Regions from separate parts of the Homo sapiens genome. Here regions 1, 2, 4, 5, 6 and 7 are each linked to region 3. Evidence: promoter capture Hi-C in 16 types of primary human blood cells and fetal thymus (Javierre and others, 2016). All regions are on one chromosome and are shown on one strand. The core of a region is centred on a gene start or on the middle of the fragment in contact, and the rest is flanking DNA. Distances in the headings are between cores, read along the strand shown.

Region 1 (2,700 bases), core at 7-2,506, 390 kb after region 3:
ACTGGTCCAGTAACCCATGGTGAGATTCTGATTAGATCTTTCTACTTTCTTGGGCACTGATTTGCCTTCCTGTCGACAGGAGAGGGTTACCCTAGGGGGCCCTAGCGTTCTTCCTCTGTATGGGAGTTTTCCTCGGAGCCTGGCTCTGTGCGCAATGGCCACCCACCCCGCCCACCCGGCAGGTTCTGTGATGTCTGTGATCTCACCTGCTGCAGGCCTCCGGGCTCCGGGGATTCTTGAGTCGGGGGAAGGAACAGCTTTGAGACGAGGAGGCAGAAAGAGTTAGAAATGCGGGGAGCCGTGAGGAGAGAAGACACTCAGATGCAGTGGCAGAGCCAAGCGGAGGACGCAGGGGCCGCAGAGCCCAGGGCTGCAGGGACTGCCAGACACACACCCCCAGCTCCCAGGCCTCCCTGGAAGAGGCTGGTTCTGTCCCCAGATGCTTCTGGAACGTCCTTTTAACCCCTGTCTCTCAGGTCCCTGAGCCAGGAGACTGGCTACACCCTTTTCCTCCTTACCCAGGCCTCCCACACACATTCCTCCCGCCCCCACGCTCTGCTCTTGGTGACCCCTGACCAGGCCTCCAGGGAAGGGAGCACTGGTCCCTGAGTGCAGTGAGGGCCTGGACTCCTGGGTCTGAGGGAGGAGGGGCTTGGGGGCCTGGACTCCTGAGTCTGAGGGAGGAGGGGCTGGGGGCCTGGACCCTTGCGTCTGAGGGAGGAGGGGCTTGGGGCCTGGACTCCTGGGTCTGAGGGAGGAGGTGAGAACTTGGACTCCTGGGTCTGAGGGAGGAGGGGCTGGGGGCCTGGACTCCTGAGTCTGAGGGAGGAGGTGGGAACTTGGACTCCTGGGTCTGAGGGAGGAGGGGCTAGGACCTAAACTCCTGGGTCTGAGGGAGGAGGGGCTGGGGCCTGAATCTGAGGCAGAGGAAGTTCTAGTCGGCTCAGTCCTTAGACCTCCGGGTTTTGGAGAAAGAAAGTGTCTGAAGACAAATTCCGGCCTCTGGGGCAAGCAGATGGTGCCCCAGGCCTCCCTGCACCCCCAGCACTCTCTGTGCCACCCAGGGACCTGCAGGCCCTCACTCCGGGCTCTAGAGCCCTCCGGCACTGGGAAGCAGCCTGCCCAGGTTCAGTGCGGTTGGGGTGACTCACACACCTGCCCGTAGGTCCCTCTGTGTGCTGCCTGCCGACCTCTGTGTCCCCAGGAGAGAGCGAGCCAGCCAGCCGGGGAGACAGCTACAGCGTGTGTCACCACACTGGCCCCCGCCCCTGCCCCGGGCTGGGGAGCAGGCCCAGGCGCGATGGGGAAAGGGCCCAGGAACAATCGGGCTTTGTCCGCCCCCAGCACCCCAGTGCCATGCTCCCAGCAGCTCCGGCCTCAACCTCTCTTCCGGCGGGCAGGCGGGAGGGCGGTTACATCAATGGCTTCCTTTTGTCCCTGTCTGACAGTCCTCCTTTGCAGTCTCTGACTGCCCACCTGGCCCTGACTGGAGATTTCGGCACTCCACATCCTCCTGGTCCTTCTCCTCCAAGTCTGCCCACCCCTGAGGTCTCTTGCTCCATCTGTCTCCCTGGCCATGGAGGGGAGGGAGCTTCCATCTCTCTCTCTCTCCCATCTCAGTCTCTGTATTTGTGTCTCTCTCCCTCTTTTTTTCTCTCTCTCCCTTCCTCTCTCCCTTCCTCTCTCCCTTCCTCCCTTCCTTCCTTCCTTCTTTCTTTCCTTCCTTCTTTTCTTTCTTTCTTTCTTTTTTTTTGACGGAGTCTTGCTCTGTCACTCAGGCTGGAGTGCAGTGGTGTGATCTCAGTTCACTGCAACCTCCGCCTCCTGAGTTCAAGCAGTTCTCCTGCCTCAGCTTCCCAAGTAGCTGGGATTACAGGCACCCACCACCACGCCCGGCTAAATGTTTTTTGTATTTTTAGTAGGGAAGAGGTTTCACCATGTTGGCCAGGCTGGTCTCAAACTCCTGACCTCAGGTGATCCACCCACCTTGGCCTCCCAAAGTGCTGGATTACAGGTGTGAGCCACTGTGCCCGGCCTCTCTCCCTTTCTTTCCCCTTGATTCTCTGACTCTCCGTGCTTATCTTCTCCTGGGTCTCTTCTTAGATTTCCCCGGGGGTAGCACTGTGTGTGCCCAGAAGGGAGTCAGTTTCCCCAGGAAGTAGCGGGGATGATTCCCGAGCGATGAGGAAGCTAGCAGGATGGAAGAGGACTTGAGGACTTATTGATGAGATGCGGACACACAGCGAGAGGCATGGAGTTAAGCAGAAATCGGAGAGCACTTGGGAACGACGTGGGGCTGTGATAAGATGGTGGTGCTGGGCAGTAGCAGAGGGATCTGGGAAGATTTAGGGAGGTGTCTTTGAACTTGGGCCTAGAAAGCTGAGCCAGGCGTAGGTCAGGAGGAAAGGCCGTGAAAATGCCTGGCCTGGGTGCACATGGGAAACCACAGGCAGTGGTTGGGGTGGTTGGTATGGGCTGGAGGGTGAGGGTGTGTGCGTGGCAGAGTGGAGAGAAATGAGGAGGGGGAAGTCACTGCGTAATAAGGACAATGATAGGAATGAAGTCTGGCTCAGCACCTGCTTGGGCTGGGCACTACAGGTAACTTAAAAAAAAAAGTTCTTTTTTCTTTTGAGACAAGGTCTTGTTCTGTCGCCTAGGCTGGAGTGCAGTGGCACGATCCTTGCTCGTGGCAGCCTCAAC
Region 2 (2,700 bases), core at 93-2,592, 480 kb after region 3:
ATCCCTCCTTTTTCAGGTCTTGGCTCAAGGGTCAAGCCCTTTGGGAAGGCCTCTGGTCGGGAAGCCGCCATTACATCTCTAGGCCCCTGGCTTGGCTCCTTGAAGTCTTCACCTCATGTCAAGATAATTATTAACTAATTATTTGGATAATTGTTTGAATAACATCTGCGTCTGTCCCCGCTAGACTCCAGGTGCTGAGAGCAGGGACTGTGTCTCTGCTTGTACAGCACCCAGCACAGTGGCCGGTGTTTAATAGCTGTTTGTTGAATGAATAAATGATTCATGAACGGGGTTTCCAGAGAACCTGCCTACAACGGCAGGGAAAGATGGGAAAGATCCATAAGGATCTTAAGGACTACCAATTTGGGGTGAGGTCACATAGGTTTGGGGTCAACCCAAGGATTAAAATAACAATCTAGAAGGTTCTGGAAGGGGCTGAGTATGAAGACAGAATACTAGAGGCCGGGCTCGGTGGCTCATGCCTGTAATCCTGGCACTTTGGGAGGCTGACGCGGGCTACTTGAAGTTAGAAGTTCGAGACCAGCCTAACCAACATGGCGAAACCCCGTCTCTGCTGAAAATACAAAAATTAGTTGGGCGTGGTGGCGGGCGCCTGTAATCCCAGCTACTCGGGAGGCTGAGGCAGGAGAATCGCTTCAACCCGGGAGGCGGAGGTTTCAGTAAGCCAAGATCGTGCCACTGCCTTCCAGCCTGGGAGACAGAGCAAGGTTCCATCTCAAAAAAAAAAAAAAAAAAAAAAAGGAATACTACTAATAAAGTAATAACGGCTAAGTGGCTAACTTTCAAGTCCCTTCTACCTGCGACATACTGAAGGCTCGACGCATTACCTCGTTTCAATATTCACAGTGACCTTCTCTGGTAAGCACTTATAGATTAAGCCCATTTTCCAGATGAAAACAATTTAGGCACAAAGCAGCTGCTAGGCTACTGGCTCAAAGCGGCAGCGTCAGGACGCGAACCCATGTCTTTCAGCTTTCCAGAGAGGACAGGAAGCCTTGAACGCGGGAGGGGCTGCTGCGAGGGTATTTTGGGAGGTGAAGGGTCTGGGGTCGGAGGGCCAACCTCAGCCGGGAAACCAGGTCACCCAGGGACAAGCAGGAAGAGCTCTGAGCTGTCCCCACTGGACCCGGCCCCGAGTGGGCGGGGGGCGGAGCTCGCGGCTCCCACGCCCCCTCCCCCTCCGGCCTGACCCCTCCTACCATTGTCCCGAATGGCCGCCGCGCCTCCACCCCCGCGCATTCTTACCTCCTGACAAGGCCAAGGTCAGGGAGGCGATCACTAGGGCCAGGGGCCACATGGCTCCGGGATCGGGAGGGGAGGGCAGGGCGGGCGGGGCCTGAGGAGAAGGTGAAGGGGGTGTTGAGGGCGTGCCCGGAACCTCCGCGTCTGAAACCTCTCTGCTCCTGAATGTCTCCTCGCCTCATTCACTCTTGACAGCCCTGACCCTGGAATCTGCCCCCCGCCTCCAATTCCATCCTTGGTGGGGGTGCAGTGGCGAGGTGGGAGGAACAGTGTGCAACCTCCTGGGGCTCCGGCGTGCAGCCCCTCACCCCAGGAAGCCGTCCCTCCTCCCCTGCCCTCTGGCGAGCTGGGTGGTCGGTGCACTCTCGCCCTTTTCCTCCAGAGTCTGCCTTCCATTCTACCCCTCTGGGTCTGTCCACACGCTTGGTATTAGCCCAAGTTCTTATCTGTCCGCGCCCTTCGCCTCTCTCCGTCTCTGCAGGTTTCTCTCTAGATCTGAGACTCTAGCTTCACTCTCCCTCTCCCTGACTCAGCTGCCCTTCTGCTTTCCCCATCCTTCCTATCCCCTCTTCTCTCCCCTCCCTGCCCTCCTCCGCTCCCCGCCCCCGCCCCAGGCAGACCCTACCTGAGTGAGGGGCCCACGAGGAGCGTCAGCCGCCAGCTGTCTAGAACTTCAGCCCCGAACCATGGCTTTTAACCCCTGAACTCCCTCCCCCAGCTCACTCAGCATTTCCTGGTCCCTGGCCTCCCCCTCTCCACCCCCAGTGGCTCAGCGGGATGTCTCCAGGCACCCCCGACCTGGGCTTGGCCCTCTGCTTGGGGCGGAGCTTCCAGGACGTGCTGGGACCTAGGTCTGACCCCGCCCAAGGCAGAGTTGAACCCACTGTGAACTTTCAGGCCTCAGGACCCAAAAAAGGGTAAGGGGAAAGCCCATTTCCTTCCCCCTACCCCGCTGAGTTCCATGCCCATCCCTAACTTCAACCCATTCTGCACCCAGTTTTCTAACCTCTTCTCCAACCCCATGCATAATTCTTAATAGGCAGTCAGCCCCCAGATGGCCGTGTTCTATCAGATTCCCACCTCCCTATCCATCCCTAACCATACCAAGTACTCCAGCCTGTTCCTCAACCCCAGTCCCATCTCCAACCTCATCTCAGGTTTAGCTCTCAACACATCCAGGTTCCAATTCCCAGTCTCATCTCAACCCTTTTTCTTTTGAAAGACACAAGGACACCCACAATTATCCCATCATCCTGCCTCCCTGCTCCCGCCAACCACCGGACACAAGAAGGAAATCATCAGCTGGGTGGATAGAAAATCAGCTCCCTCGGACTTGGATGGGGGCAGAGATGCGACCTGAGAAAGCAACATTTTCCAGAAATGGCCTTTTAGGAGCAGGGCCAGAGGGGGTGAGGGAGTCCACGGGGACCTAGGTGG
Region 3 (2,700 bases), core at 131-2,630:
GGCTCCTCACTTCCTAGACGGGGTGGCCGGGCAGAGGCGCTCCTCACTTCACGCCTGGATAATTTTTGTATTTTTAGTAGAGACGGGGTTTTGCTGTGTTGCCAAAACTGGTCTTGAACTCCTGGCCTCAAGGGATCTGCCCGTCTCAGCTTCCGAAAGTGTTGGGATTACAGGCGTGAGCCACCGTGCCTGGCCCAGAGCAGTCTTACTGAGCCGAGGAGACAGAGAGAGGGCTCTGGGGGCTGCTGACAAGGCTGGAATTTGCAGGATAGGGCAGTGGGGAAAAGGGAGCCGCATGAGGTGGGCCCCCAGAAGCCTGTGTGTAGTTCACCATAGGTCCTTGGCTAAGGACTGGACGGTGTCTGCAGAGGACAAGACTCCATGAGTACCAGTCGGGGGTAGCTGCTACAAAGATGAGAGATGAACAGAAATAAAAGCCGTCATGCAGCGCTAGGAGATGAGTCTCCAGCCCAGCCAGAGTGGGAGGGCCTCACTAAGCTCCTGGGCACTCAGCTGAAAGCTCAGGAAGGCCATGCTTTAGGAGTAAGGCCCTGACTTAATATTCTGTTGAGTGGATACAGCATGGTTAATTTAACCATTCCTTTCTAGTTGGATACTCTGGTAATTTTATTTTTCAAAAACTAGGCCTGGCATGGTGGCTCATGCCTATAACCCCAGAACTCTGGGAGGCTGAGGTGGGTGGATCTGTTGAGCTCAGGAGTTTGAGGCCAGCCTGGCTAACATGGTAAAACCCCGTCTCCACTAAAAATACAAAAATTAGCCAGGTTTGGTGGTGCGTGCCTATAGTCCCAGCTACTTGGGAAGCTGAAGTAGGAGAATCGCTTAAACCCGGGAGGTGGAGGTTGCAGTGAGCCGAGATGGTACCACTGCACCCATCCAGCCTGGGTGACAGAGCAAGACTCTGTTCAAAAAAGAAGTAAAAATAAAAAATAAAAATAAAGGCCAGGCACAGTGGCTCACACCTGTAATCCCAGCACTTTGGGAGGCTAAGATGGGCGGATCACCTGAGGTCAGGAGGTCGAGACCAGCCTGGATAAGATGGCGAAACCCTGTCTCTACTAAAAATACAAAAATTAGCTGAGCATGGTGGCACGCGCCTGTAGTCCCAGCTTCTCAGGAGGCTGAGGCAGGAGAATCGCTTGAAACTGAGAGGCCGAGGTTGCAGTGAGCCGAGATCACGCCACTGCACTCCAGCCTGGGTGAGAAGAGCAAGACTCCATCTCAAAAAAAAAAAAAAACTATTATAAAATATCACCATGAACCTCTTTGTAAGCTTCTGACTTTCAGGTGAATTCCCAGGCATGGGATATTTTCAGGGTATGGACATTGTTCCTGTATTTGACACCTTTCACCAATTTGCTTTCCAAAATTGTGGCAATTTACCTTCTGACAACTGAGTATCAGCATGCATGTCTGTTTGGCTGCACTCTCTCTAGCATTTGGTAGAAGCTTAAAACATTTGTTGCTCATTTGATGGGCAGAGGAAGGAATCACTGAGCTGTTGTAATGCTATGCCTTTGGGCTTTATAAAAGGAACTAAATGAAACAGTTAATGTGAAAATTGCTTTAGCTTCTGCAGAAAACTTTTGTTAATGACCCAGCAATTCAACTCATAGGAACTTATATTCAGGAAGTCATCAGAGAGGTAGACAAAAATATACACACAGAGATGTATCTCATAGAATCATTTATTATAGCCAAATCTGAAAAAAACTTAAGTGTTAATGGAGTACATGTGATCTGGGGATGCTGCTTTACCTGTAGCCTGTTTTCATTTCACTCCTAAGTTATTTATTTATTTTATTTATTTTTATTTTTATTTTTTATTTTTAGAGACAGAGCCTCGCTCTGTTGCCCAGGCTGGAGTGCAGTGGCACAATCTCAGCTCATTGCAACCTTTGCCTCCCAGGTTCAAGCGATTCTCCTGCCTCAGCCTCCAGAGTAGCTGGGACTACAGGCCGGTACCACCATGCCCGGCTAATTTGTGTATTTTTAGTAGAGATGGGGTTTCACCACGTTGGCCAGACTCGTCTCAAACTCCTGACCTCAGATGATCTGCCTGACTCAGCCTCCCAAAGTGCTGGGATTACAGGCGTGAGCTTCTGTGCCCGGCCCTGCCATATTATTATTATTATTATTTTGAGACAGAGTCTTGCTCTGTCACCCAGGCTGGAGTGCAGTGGCACAATCTCAGCTCACTGCAATTTCCACCTCCTGAGTTCAAGAAATCCTCCCACCTCAGCCTCCTGAGTAGCTGGGACTACAGGCGCCTGCCACCACGCCCAGCTTATTTTTGTATTTTTTTGTAGAGATGGGGTTTTGTCATGTTTGCCCTGGCTGGTCTCAAACTCTTGGGCTCAAGCCCCCTGGGCTCAAGTGATCCAGCCGCCTTGGCCTCCCAAAGTGCTGGGATTATAGGCATAAGCCACCATTTCTGGCCACTCCTGCCTTATTGACTAATAATTTTATTATTATTATTATTGTTATTGAGACAGAGTCTCTGTCACCCAGGCTGGAGTGCAGCGGTGCAATCTTAGCTCACTCCAACCTCCACCTCCTTGGTTCAAGTGATTCTCTTGCCTTCGTCTCCCAAGTAGCTGGGATTACAGGTGCCCACCACCATACCCAGCTAATTTTTGTATTTATGGGGTTTCACCATGTTGCCCAGGCTGGTCTCGA
Region 4 (2,700 bases), core at 73-2,572, 430 kb after region 3:
AGAGGTTGCAGTGAGCTGAGATTGTGCCACTGCACTCCAGCCTGGGAGATAGAGGGAGACTCTGTCTCAAAAAAAAAAAAAAAAAAAAAAAAGAAAGACTAGAATGTCATCATTCTATAAATCTATAACCTTAGAAATTTAAGAGTCTGGGATTCAAATAGTTTAAGACTACAGAATTATCTGAATCTCAATATTCTAGGATACTGTGAATCAAAGATTCTAGTACTGTGAGTTTCAATATTCAATGAATCTAGAAAGCTCTGAATTTAAGATTCTAGGATCACACTAGCCATTATGGCTATTGAACACTTGAAATGTGGCTAGTCCATTTTGTAACAGGCTATGTGTGTAAAATACAGAACAGATTTCAAAGGCTTAGTACCAAAACAAAAGTAAACTGTATCGTTCATACGTATTTAAAAATTGATTACATGTCAAAATAAGTTTTTGGGTATGTCAAGTTAAATCTATTAGAATTAATTTTACTCATTCCTTATTTTTTAAATGTGTCCACCAGAAATTTAAACTTACACATGTGGCTGGCATCATAATTCCTCTGGGCAGTGCTGACCCAGACTGCTAAGATTCTAATAGTCTGCGAATCTATGATTCTAAAATTTGCTGAGGCTATTGCAGAATTTCATAAATTCAAGATTTTAGGATTCTACGATTCTGGATTTCTCTGGGTCAGTCTCGGATTCGAAGAGCCTAAGTTTCGAATCTTAGACTTCTCAAATGAGATATTGCTGGTCTCTAGAATTTTAGGATTTGGGAGGCTACCCTTCCTACTTCTAAGAGTTGAACTTGTGGTATCAGAAGTGGAGGCTCCGCACTTCTGGCCTAAAGCACCCCTCACCCTCTCCTGACCCCCAGCCTCTGTCCCTCCCCAGCATGGCCAGCCTGGGTCACTCACGGCTTGCGGCAGTGGGCAGCTGTGAGCAGCCAGCGGTCACTGATGAGGGTCGCCCCACAGAAGAGCCGAGTAAGGTGGAAGAGGCCGGCCTGCCAAGGCTGGGAGTTGGGGCGACATTCCTCGGCCCCGATGGCACGGGTGTCTGCCCAGCCATGCCCTGGGGTGGGGATGAGGGACAAAGGGGTCAGCGAAGAGCAGGCTGGGAGGGCAGGGAGAGGATGCTGAGAAGCCTAGAGGGCAGGAGGCAGAAGCCTGGGATGGGAGGGAAGAGCAAGGTGACCTTAGTACAGCCGTGAAGGGGCAGCCAGCCTGGGAGCCTCACCTGCCAGCAGAGAGAGCAGAGCACAGAGGAGTCCCAGCTTCATGACCCCTGGGCACCTGGATCCTGGAACGTGCACCCGGCGTCCAGTGCTTCTTTATGGTAAGCCATGCCATCTCCTTCCTCCTCCATGGGGCCGCCCCTGTGATTAATCGGGGTTGGGAAATGTACCTGGGGGAGGGGGAAGCCCTGGGGCTGTGACAGGGGCCTTGGGAGAGGAGGTAAGTGCAGGGGGACCCCCCTTTTGGGATGAACTGGCGGCTTGCTGGGCCAGAGCTTGACTGAATGGAGGAGGAGTGCTGGGGGTGTGGAGAGGTTGTGGGCACCTCCTCTGGGGTCTTCAGAGTGGGAGACCTCATTCCTCATCACCTTAGGCTACAAGATACAGAATCTTTTGTGTCCTGGAAAAGGAGGGAGATCCTTGAAGCCTAAGGTCCTGGGGTGCAGCAGGTTTATTTTGGATAAAGCAGTGGTGTGCAGAGACCAACCTCCCACGGCAGGCTGGAGGGATGTGCAGGGGGACCACCCAGAAAGGAGGCGAGGGGTGGAAGACAGAGTCAGGACTCAGACACAAGAGCAAAAGATACAAAGAGAGGGAGGTACAGGCACAGAAGGACCCAAGATGAGAGGAGGAGTGGGAGGAGGAGACAGAACACGGGAAAGATTGAGGGAAATCCAGGTGGAGTGAGGCAGAGACCACAGGCAGCTGCACAGGTTTACACACCTTGCAGAACCTTCCCTGCCCTGGGGATTTGGGCCTCTTCCCACAAGGACAAGGCCCTCTCCTAGAATGTTGAGAAATCTGGTTCCATCTGGATTAACCCACTCTTGTCATAACCTGCCCCCTTCCCCACGGCTCCACCACCCAAGGACCCAGGTGCCCAACCTTCCAGGTAGCAAGTGCCCTGTGCTCTCTCTTAATACATCCTGATCTTTGCCAAATCCTGAGAACATTTGCTATATATTTTTTTCATCCATCTCCCTGCCCCCCACCCCATTGTCCCTTCCATCACCCCATCCTCCCTGCCTCTCTCCTCATCATTCCTTCTCACCAGGTGGACAGCTTCTGGAGGGCTGGGCCCAGGTCTGACTCATCTCTGTGTCCCAGCATCACCCCGTTCCAGGCGGAACAGGGCTTGCAGAAGTCCTCAGGAGATGTTCATTGAATGAGTGAATGTCTTTCTCCATATCCTTCTTTTCCTGGTGAACTCCCACTCATCCTTCAACACCCAACCTCAATTCTCCCTCCTCCAGGAAATCTCTGAGATCCTCAGGCAGAGTCCATCTTTGCCTCCCCTGGGCACTTACGATCCCTTCCACTTTCTCCTGCTCACAGGCCTGGTTATGAAGCTGGGTCTGGGCTCCCCTTGAATGTTCTCTCACTGTGTCGTCATGGTTTGGAGCATGGACTCTGGAACTGAACCATGTGTGTCCAAATCTCAATGATTAGGTGTGATTAGTGATGAGG
Region 5 (2,700 bases), core at 21-2,520, 380 kb before region 3:
AGGGCCAGCCACATCCCGCAGGACCTCATTGGCCATGGTGAGTTCTTAGACTTTTACTGAGTGAAATGGGAGCCATGGAAGGCTCTGAACAGAGGAAAGGCCCCATCTGAATAGAGTAGACTGTAGGGAGAGCAAGGGTGAAGGCAGACAGTCCATCACTCCCATTTTACGAGTGCAGAAATAAATGGAATCTCAAAAAAGTCCAGCAACTGGCCTGAGCCCACACAGCTGCTGAGCAGCCGAGCCAAGCTGGCAGGCCTCCTTGGGTTCAGTGGAGCCATTCCTTTGTGCCCTTGGCTCTTTTTATTTTCCTTTTAAATAGAGATGGGGCCTATGTTGCCCAGGCTGGTCTTGACCTCCTGGGCTCAAGTGATCCTCCCACCCTGGCCTCCCAAAGTGTTGGGATTACAGGTGTGAGCCACGGCACCCTTCCAACCTTGGGAAGTCTTTTGGCTCTCCTGAGCCTCAGTTTTCCCATCTGTAAATTGTAAATGGGGAATCATTACCACGTTTGGGCATAGCATGGCGGTTAAAAGCACAACTTCTGGTTGGATCTGAGTCCTTGCTCTGCCATCGGCCAGCTCTGTGACTTTCTGCAATTAACACCCTCTTTCTAAGCTTGGGGTTACCTCATCTAGAAGATGAAGATCTTAATAGCACCAATTTCAAGGGCTTCGTTGTAAGGATTAAATGAGATCATGCAGGTAAGGCGCTTAGCACAGCTCCCGGTCTACATCGAAGTGCTTGATAAACGATCATTGTTATTCCGATAGTATCACGGCCCACACCTCCCCGGTGGGTGAGAGCCTGGGAGGGTGCCTGGTACATGGTCTACGTTCGACAAAAGTGAATTCTGTCTCCTGTCTCTCCTGCCCGCCGGGTCCCGGGGGACCCAGGCATTCCGGCCTTCGGTCGGCCCCCCCACGCCGGCCCTTACAAAGGCCCCCATTCATGCCTTGCGCACAAAGCGGCCCATTCACCCTGGCCCCTTGGGCCTCCCGCCCCCGGCCGCCCCCCGCGCCTCGCTATTGGTGGCGCCCCGTGCCCATCAGGCCTCGGCTTCCACCCCCGACCGCGCCGCCTAGCTCCGCGCCCGGGCCGCGTTCTTTTCCCACGGCTGGCACCCTTCGACAACTTCTGATTGGCCCAGCCCGCCAGCCGCTCTTTTTGATTGGCGGCTCCCGTCCCCCAGGGGCGGGGCCGTAGCTTGCCGCAGCGGGCGCCGATTGGCCTCTGCTGCTCTCTTGGGGGCGGGGCTGTCCTGGCGGACACGCCCCTCTTTCTCCCCAGGCCGAAGCCTCGGGACGGCCCTGGAAGCCGGTGAGTGCCCGGGGCCGGCAGCCCTCCGGGGGCGGCGGAACGGGACTGAGCCAGGGGAAGCTGGAGCCTGGGGGCTGCGATCGGGGCCCGGGAGCCCGGGCAGGCGGCCGGGGACGGCGGGGAGGTGACGCGGACACTCACCTTGGGCGCGCAGCGGGACGGCGGCGAGGGAGGTGGGGGGGCGGGACGTCTACACTCCCCCAACTCCAGTTGCCGCCGTGTGCGAGGCCCGGTCGGGGTCCTCGTTGTCAGCCCCGGGCCTGTTCCGCAGAAGGGGAAACTGAGGCTGTCTTTGGAACCTCGGCCGCTTTAATACCTGAGTCATCGCCTCCAGTCCCCCGCCCCCAGCATGACATGTCTCTGTTCTCACGTGTCAGAATCGGAGGCCAGAGAGAGGGGTCGTGACTGGAAGAGGCGGAGGGGTAGGGAAGGACATATTTGAGAACCTATGATGTACTTGGACGCTTTTATTTTTTATAACTAAATAATTTCCTTTCCTTATCGTGTTGACTCGAGGTGAGTTATATTGTACCCATTATACAGAGAGGGGAAGGCTGAGACTGGGCCGAATTGGTGACTGCAGGGGGACCTGGTGGAGAAGAACACTCCAGAGACCAACTGTGTGCTGGGTCCTTTAACCTTTTCAGTCCCACAGGAGTCCCCTAAGGAAAGCGGTGGTCCCTGTGGCATAGATGGGGAAGCAGGTTGGTAGTAATCACCAACTGGGACGCAGAAATTCATGTCTTTAGGGACCTGCTACAAGTTCTTTCCAGACCCCCTCCTTTAGAATGGCAGAAAACGGTATAGGCTTGAATTCCAGACCTCCCTCTTACGCTGTGTGATCTTGAGTGCCTTACTTTGACCCTTCCTGCCTCAGTTTCCACATCAGAGAAATGGACATGCTGATCACCCCTATGTCATTGGTTGTTGAGGTTATTCTAGGCCGGGCGCAGTGGCTCAGGCCTGTAATCCCAGCACTTTGGGAGGTGGAAGCGAAAGAATCGCTTGAGCCCAGGAGTTCGAGACCAGCTTGGGCAACACAGCGAGACTTCGTCTCTACAAAAAGTAAAAGAGTTAGCCGGGCGTGGTGGCGTGACCCTGCTGTCCCAGCTACTCGGGAGGCTGAGCAGGGAGGATCGGTTGAGCCCAGGAGGTCAAGGCTGCAGTGAGCCATGATCGTGGCATTGCACTCCAAGCTGGGCAACAGAGAGAGACCCTGTCTCTCCCTCTTTTTTTTTTTTTAAATCATTTTATGATCTCAAAGAGCTGTTCTAAGAGGAGAAAATACCCGACACATAGTAGGTACTCTTATCACCATGTAGTCTTTATTTCACTCCCGAGACTGAAGCTCAGGACAGAATACCATTGTCCTCTTCTTTG
Region 6 (2,700 bases), core at 6-2,505, 440 kb after region 3:
CCTCAGCCCCTCCACGGGACCCTTTACGACCCCCTTGACCTCTCCTCCTTTGGCATTTAAAGGGATTATCTAGAAGGGCATCCAGGCCCTCATGACCACTGCTCCAGTTCAGGTGCCTTATGGGTTGTTCTGTAATTTGGAATCAGCCCTGTCACTGTCCAGACACAGAGGGTTAGGGGATCCCAGAGATTCAAGAGGGAGGATCCTGCCCTGCCCCCATCCCCTGCGTACCTGTTGCCAGAGCAAGCAGGATTAACTGCAGAATCCTCATGGCCTGGAGGGGGGAGGAGCGGGCCCCAGGTTCCTCTGGGAACAAGGAGGGACATGGGGCCGCATCACTTTACGGGGAAATCGGGAGGGGGGGGCTGGCTCATGCCCTCTCCTCTCTCCCTCACCTGCTCCCGCTCCCCACTTGGGAGAAACAAGGTTGGGGAAATCCCCTGTTTCTCACAGCACTCAGATCTCCAAACACTTAAAATATATCTTAGGTGTCTAGGGTGGCCTTGGAGAGGGCCTGGTCACAGCTAGAAGCTTCCGAGATACCAAGAACCATGTGGAAGTCGTTGGGAGGGGCTTTGAGCTGTCAAGCCATGGTTCGGCCCTGTTCAAGTCAGCCATGGGACCTCCCCGGCACATGTCAGAGGATGTTTTCCTTCTTGCCTTGAGAGCTGGCCAGGCCCCAGCAGCTTGGGGTGGAAGGACAAGGGGAACCAGACACCGTTCCGTAGCCACCCCTTTTTCATTGTCTTCGCAGCAGAGCGATATGGAGCCTTTGAGGTCTGCTGGAGGGGAGTAGGGGGCTCAGCCCCAGACAATGTCTGGGACCCCCATCACCCGGCTTGCTGAAGCCCTGTCCGCCAAACCCCTGCCCTTTTGAAGGACAGCCAAGCAAAGCTGGGCGGGGCTGGTCGAGGGGAGGGCCAGTGCCCTCCGCTGCCCTGGCCAGCGGGGGTGGGAGCAGAGGGCCAGCTCAGCAGCTGAAGCCATGGAGATTAGAGGTAACTGAGGCTGCGGACAGCCATCGGAGGTGAGAGGTGTAGAGAGAGGCCAGGAACCCCCACCCAAGCAGAGAAGGACAGAGCAGAGGGAGAAATGGGTGCCCGAGTGGGACAGGTGTCCTTGGGGAGGGCTGACACCTGGACGGGGAGGGGCAGCTTCCCTTTCCTCCTGGACTCACAGGCTCTGGGGCTGGGGCTCTGGGGGCCCAGTGGCGGCGGAGACGGCAGTGGCGGCAGCTACAGCAGGTAGGCTGGGTTGGAGCGCCAGGTGCCAGGCACCAGGCAGGCGGGCTGGCAGGGGGGCGGCCCTGGGCGGGCCCAGGATGACTGGCCTCCAAGCCCTGCCTTAATGCCCCGGGGCGGGGTGTGTGTGAGGGCCCTCCCCGGAGGCCTCTGAGGCACTGGCTGCCTGCCTGTGCCACCTCTCCAAGCCCCTCTTCTCCCTGTGTCTCAGCCTCCCTCTGTCTGTCTGTCTGTCTGCAGCCTTCCTTTCCCTGCCCTGAGTCTCTGAATCTGTGTCTCGTTCTATGTGTCATTCCCTGTCATTCAGTAATTCTGACTTTGTGTGATTTTTCTCTTTCTGTCCCTATGTGTCTGTCTGCCTTTCTCTGTCCTCGTCCCTGTCTCCATCTCCACTCTTCTCTCTCTGTCTGGCTCTGTGTGGCCCTTTCTCTAATTCCTTCTATCTTTGTGTCTCTCAGTCAGTCTCTCTGACTGCATCTCTGGCAATTTGTCTTGAAATCCCTCTTCTTCCATCTAATCTCCGTCTCTCTTTTTCCTCCCGTCCCAGCCACTCCCTCTCCACAGCCCCAGCCCAGGTGGGCCCCTGGCCTCCCCTAGGCCGCTCCCTTCTCCTTTGCAAGGAGAGGGGGGGTGTGCTGGGATGTCACACAGGTGGGGCTGCTGCCAGGCACAGGGGCAGGACCGGAGGGTGGGGGAGGCAGGTCAGGGCCTGTGGAAGCCGAGTCCAGGAAAGGGAACAGAGCCCTTGGCTGTGCTCCACCCCAGGGCTCCTCTGGGGCCTCGCTCCTCTGCTGACCCTTCCCCTGCCCGCTTCTCCCTGCCGCCCAGGCAGCCCGAGTCCAGCTGTTCACTTACTGGCTGCTGTGAGACCTCTGCCCGATGACTTCCAGTCCCGCAGCCACCTCAACCTCTGCATCTGCGGAACCCGAGCGCAGATTCCTGCTTCTCCCAGCTTGTTTGTTTTCAGTTAGGTCCCTTCCCTTGGCTTTCCTCCCCTCTCTCCCCTGACCAGGTGTGGAGCAAGGCAGGGGAGGGCCTAGGTTCTGACAGCAGCCAGCCCTGGCCTCAAACCTAGGTGCTTCCTCTTCCTACTACTATGACTACCCTTATGACGTGGGGACAAGGGACTCCACCCCTGCAAGGCTCAGTTTCTTCATCTGAGAGATGGGGGTGACAGACCTGCTTGCAGGGGAGGTTGGGATCAGGCTTCCAGGAGGGTCCACTTGGAAAGAGCAGACTGCGGGGGGGCTCAGCAAATGTGCCTCCGCTGGTATGATCACCCCTCACTCCCTCCCTCCTCCAGTTTCCCTTCAGTGCATTTGGGGAGATGGTCTCTCCTCACCTCTTGAGTCCCAGTGGAGACAGAATCCAAGGGGTGGGCAGGAGGATTAAAGACGTAGGCTGAGCTCTCCTGCTTTCCAAGCCTGCACTCCACCCTTCGTCTTATTAGAACAAAGCC
Region 7 (2,700 bases), core at 141-2,640, 330 kb after region 3:
GACTGGTGCCATCGCGGTGCAAAGCCACGGTCAGGAGGGGTTCAACAGAGGAGTCTAGGCTCATAGCAGTAGGATCGGGTCCTTCGGGGTGAATTAAAGCTCAGGGGGTGGAGTTGTTGCTGGGAGCAAGGATCGGGTCACTTGTCTGCGCAGACTGATGCTCAAAGAGTCGGTCCTGCGCCGAGTCACTCCTATCCTCTCCCAGCCTTGCCCACAGTCACACCAAGCCACAAGCCCATGCACACCAAAACACCGTTTTATAGTCCTGTGAGGTGAGTTCCTTGGGGATGGGAGAGGGGGATCTCAGGACTGAAGACCCAGGAAGCAGGCACAGATTCCCAGCAATGGATCACGCCCCAGGAAGCACAATCTCCTGCACCCTCGGCTTCCCCTGTCCCCATATCATCATTACACTGTTGTCACTCCACCAGATATTCAGAGGCACAAACTGTCAGAGTCTCACAGGTACAACCACACACCCAGGCACACTGCCACACACAAATTTACCACGATACAAGGAGTTGCAGGGGCACAGCCATGGGGGACGGATAACACGGTACCGTCTCACAGGCAGCTTTGCAGTCACAAGCAAGAGGACACTGAGTCACACCTGAACATTAACAAACACTGTGCCCCCAAGCACGGACAGACACACACACGCATACTCAGATACCTGCGACACCAAGGATGAGGTACCCCAGGAACCAGCCCCAGGGATTTCCTGCTGTGGCCATCACGTCAGCACCTGGGGATGAGGACTGAGACTTAGCCGTGTCTGGGGATCTTCAGCCCAAGTCTCTCCATCCCTCTCTTTGTCCCTCCCTTTCTTCCCTCTGGGACGTTATTAGGTAGGCAAGAGCCTAGACCATCTACCCCCTCTCCCATCCATGGACCCAGAACCTAGAGAGACAGATTTAGAGACTGAGAGAGAAAAAGAGAGAGAGAGATGGGAAAAGAGAGAGAGAGAGAGAACTAGGTAGAAAGGAAAGTTTAGAGAAAGCATCTAGCCATCTGTGAATGGGGAGAGATGGTGTCTAGCCACCCACAAACAAGCATGGAGGGAAGACACACAGAGAATCAGAGCCGGAGAGACAGAGTGCTTGAGAGATATCCTCAGAGACAGTCTGAGAGTTAGACATGGAGATATAGATTCAGAGAGACAGAGAGACCCCTAACTAGAGACAGTGACTCCTAACTAGAGACAGTGAGAGATCTGTCTAGAGAGATGTGGAGACAGAAGGCACAGAGGCTGAGAATCCAGCGACATGGAGCTGTAGGGAGAGTTGGATCATGAACACTGCAGGCTTTTAGTGGGGGACCACCAGGCCTCTTACCCGGCCACCTCTGGGCTCCTGGATTCCACTGCTGGGCTGAGCTCCAGCCTGCTGCCTCCCGCAGGGGCCTCCTTGGGGCTTATAAGCATCCTCAGCCTGGGCTGGCCTGCCCCCAGGGGATGTGTTCCAGGGGTCAGGTGCTGCAAACTTCCAGCTCAACTCTCTCAGGCTGCCTCAACTCTGACCAGGCAGTGGTTGGGGGCCCAGAAGGGGCTGGCAGCAGGGTCTAGGGACCCAGGGAGGAGACCCCTGCCCAGATCCTAGACTCCACTCTCCTTTTTCTTTCTCTCTCTCTCTCTCATTCTTTCTCTTTTCATGTTCTTATTCTCTCTCATGAGATACCTCTCTCTTGCCTGTATCTCTCATTTTCTCTTTCTCTTCTTCTTTCTTTCTCTCATTCTCTCTCTCATTATTTTTCTCGTGTTTTCTTTCATTTCCTCTCATTCTCTCCTGTTCTCTCTCATGTTCTTTCTCTTTTTAAATTAAATCTCTCTCTCTCTCTCCCCTCCTCCTTCATCCCTCTCTTTCTGTGCTTCTCCAGCAAATTTCCCCAGGTTCGTATCCAGCCTACATCACGAACTATTTTTGGAACCTTGGGCAAGTGACTGCACCCCTGTGAGCCTGTTTTTCCAACTGTAAAACTGGAGTGACCATTATGCCCCATTTCCCAAGTGGATTCAAAGAGGTAATTCAGGGAAAGGCACACAGTGCCAGGCACATTGTAGGCTCTCGGTGAGCGGGAGAACTAAAAAGTCTTCGCTCAGTGAAAAGCAGCTGAGTGCCTACCACACTCCGAGCTCTGCGGCAGGTGCTGGGGCCACAGGAGGAACCAGCAAAGTCCTCGTCACTGGGGATCGCGTCCTACCCGGGGGCACAGACCATAAAGGAAAACTGCAGGGACCAGCATATAAGGTGGTGGTCGGGGAGACTCAGAGAAGGGGAACATTTAAGCTGAGATCCCAGGGAAGAGGAGGAGGAGGGTCGCCGCAGCAGGGGCGGTTGCGGGGTGCAGGGGAGAACTTGGCTCCAGCCAGAGGAGGGCAGGGCGGGTAGGAGGGCAGGGCGGGTAGGAGCGCAGACCGGGAACCGGGCGGGCCTGCAGGAGTTTACGTACCAGGATTAAGGAGCTTGGGTTTTACTTAAGTGCAATGGATTTTAAGCACGAGGATGGAGTGACATAATCTTATTTACTTTTTAAAAACTTCCAGCTTGGAGAGTGATGGTGGGGGCGGGGCGGGGGGCAGTGGCAACAGCCCAGGTGGGAGGTGACGGGGTCAAGGGAGAAGAGAGGTGAATGGACACGGGGTCCCCTCTGCATGTGGAGCCAAGTTACTGCCCGATGGATGGAAAGTGGGGGGCCAGGAGC

The links. The method cuts DNA at HindIII sites, captures the fragments that hold promoters and counts their contacts. A CHiCAGO score of 5 or more calls a contact.
Region 1: the fragment with the promoter of KLK6 here is called in contact with a fragment that was not itself captured in region 3 in 7 of 17 cell types (M1 macrophages, M0 macrophages, total B cells and 4 more); the score reaches 12.3 in M1 macrophages.
Region 2: a contact is called between the fragment with the promoter of KLK13 here and a fragment that was not itself captured in region 3, in 3 of 17 cell types (M1 macrophages, M2 macrophages and M0 macrophages). The highest score is 8.9, in M1 macrophages.
Region 4: a contact is called between the fragment with the promoter of KLK9 here and a fragment that was not itself captured in region 3, in 3 of 17 cell types (M0 macrophages, M1 macrophages and M2 macrophages). The highest score is 7.2, in M0 macrophages.
Region 5: a contact is called between the fragment with the promoter of MYH14 here and a fragment that was not itself captured in region 3, in 1 of 17 cell types (naive B cells). The highest score is 5.8, in naive B cells.
Region 6: the fragment with the promoter of KLK11 here is called in contact with a fragment that was not itself captured in region 3 in 4 of 17 cell types (M0 macrophages, M1 macrophages, megakaryocytes and 1 more); the score reaches 8.1 in M0 macrophages.
Region 7: a contact is called between the fragment with the promoter of KLK4 here and a fragment that was not itself captured in region 3, in 2 of 17 cell types (naive B cells and M2 macrophages). The highest score is 7.0, in naive B cells.

The regions. Positions count from the first base shown.
Region 1 is chr19:50,968,335-50,971,034 of GRCh38, forward strand. It overlaps KLK6 (kallikrein related peptidase 6), which reads right to left and starts at 1,257. Exons shown (of 7, transcript NM_002774.4): 1 at 1,156-1,257; 2 at 207-257. It overlaps LOC105372442 (a long non-coding RNA gene), which reads left to right. Exons shown (of 7, transcript XR_007067308.1): 4 at 1-19. The HindIII fragment of the contact is 4,765 bases long and covers 1-2,700 here.
Region 2 is chr19:51,063,750-51,066,449 of GRCh38, forward strand. KLK13 (kallikrein related peptidase 13) reads right to left here and starts at 1,343. Exons shown (of 5, transcript NM_015596.3): 1 at 1,267-1,343. The coding sequence starts at 1,318. The HindIII fragment of the contact is 5,030 bases long and covers 1-2,700 here.
Region 3 is chr19:50,582,454-50,585,153 of GRCh38, forward strand. No RefSeq gene overlaps it. Among named protein-coding and RNA genes, the nearest start is that of LRRC4B, 15 kb to the left of the region's middle. The HindIII fragment of the contact is 176 bases long and covers 1,293-1,468 here.
Region 4 is chr19:51,008,270-51,010,969 of GRCh38, forward strand. It overlaps KLK9 (kallikrein related peptidase 9), which reads right to left and starts at 1,323. Exons shown (of 5, transcript NM_012315.2): 1 at 1,236-1,323; 2 at 914-1,070. The coding sequence starts at 1,278. RefSeq lists an enhancer at 1,206-1,706. The HindIII fragment of the contact is 11,592 bases long and covers 1-2,700 here.
Region 5 is chr19:50,202,352-50,205,051 of GRCh38, forward strand. MYH14 (myosin heavy chain 14) reads left to right here and starts at 1,271. Exons shown (of 43, transcript NM_001145809.2): 1 at 1,271-1,320. LOC124904746 (a long non-coding RNA gene) reads right to left here and starts at 1,625. Exons shown (of 3, transcript XR_007067298.1): 1 at 1,462-1,625. The HindIII fragment of the contact is 8,559 bases long and covers 617-2,700 here.
Region 6 is chr19:51,025,361-51,028,060 of GRCh38, forward strand. KLK11 (kallikrein related peptidase 11) reads right to left here and starts at 1,256. Exons shown (of 6, transcript NM_001136032.3): 1 at 1,178-1,256; 2 at 232-306. The coding sequence starts at 271. RefSeq lists enhancers at 335-893, 894-1,451, 2,011-2,567. The HindIII fragment of the contact is 2,362 bases long and covers 530-2,700 here.
Region 7 is chr19:50,910,005-50,912,704 of GRCh38, forward strand. KLK4 (kallikrein related peptidase 4) reads right to left here and starts at 1,391. Exons shown (of 6, transcript NM_004917.5): 1 at 1,335-1,391; 2 at 674-745. The coding sequence starts at 734. The HindIII fragment of the contact is 22,926 bases long and covers 1-2,700 here.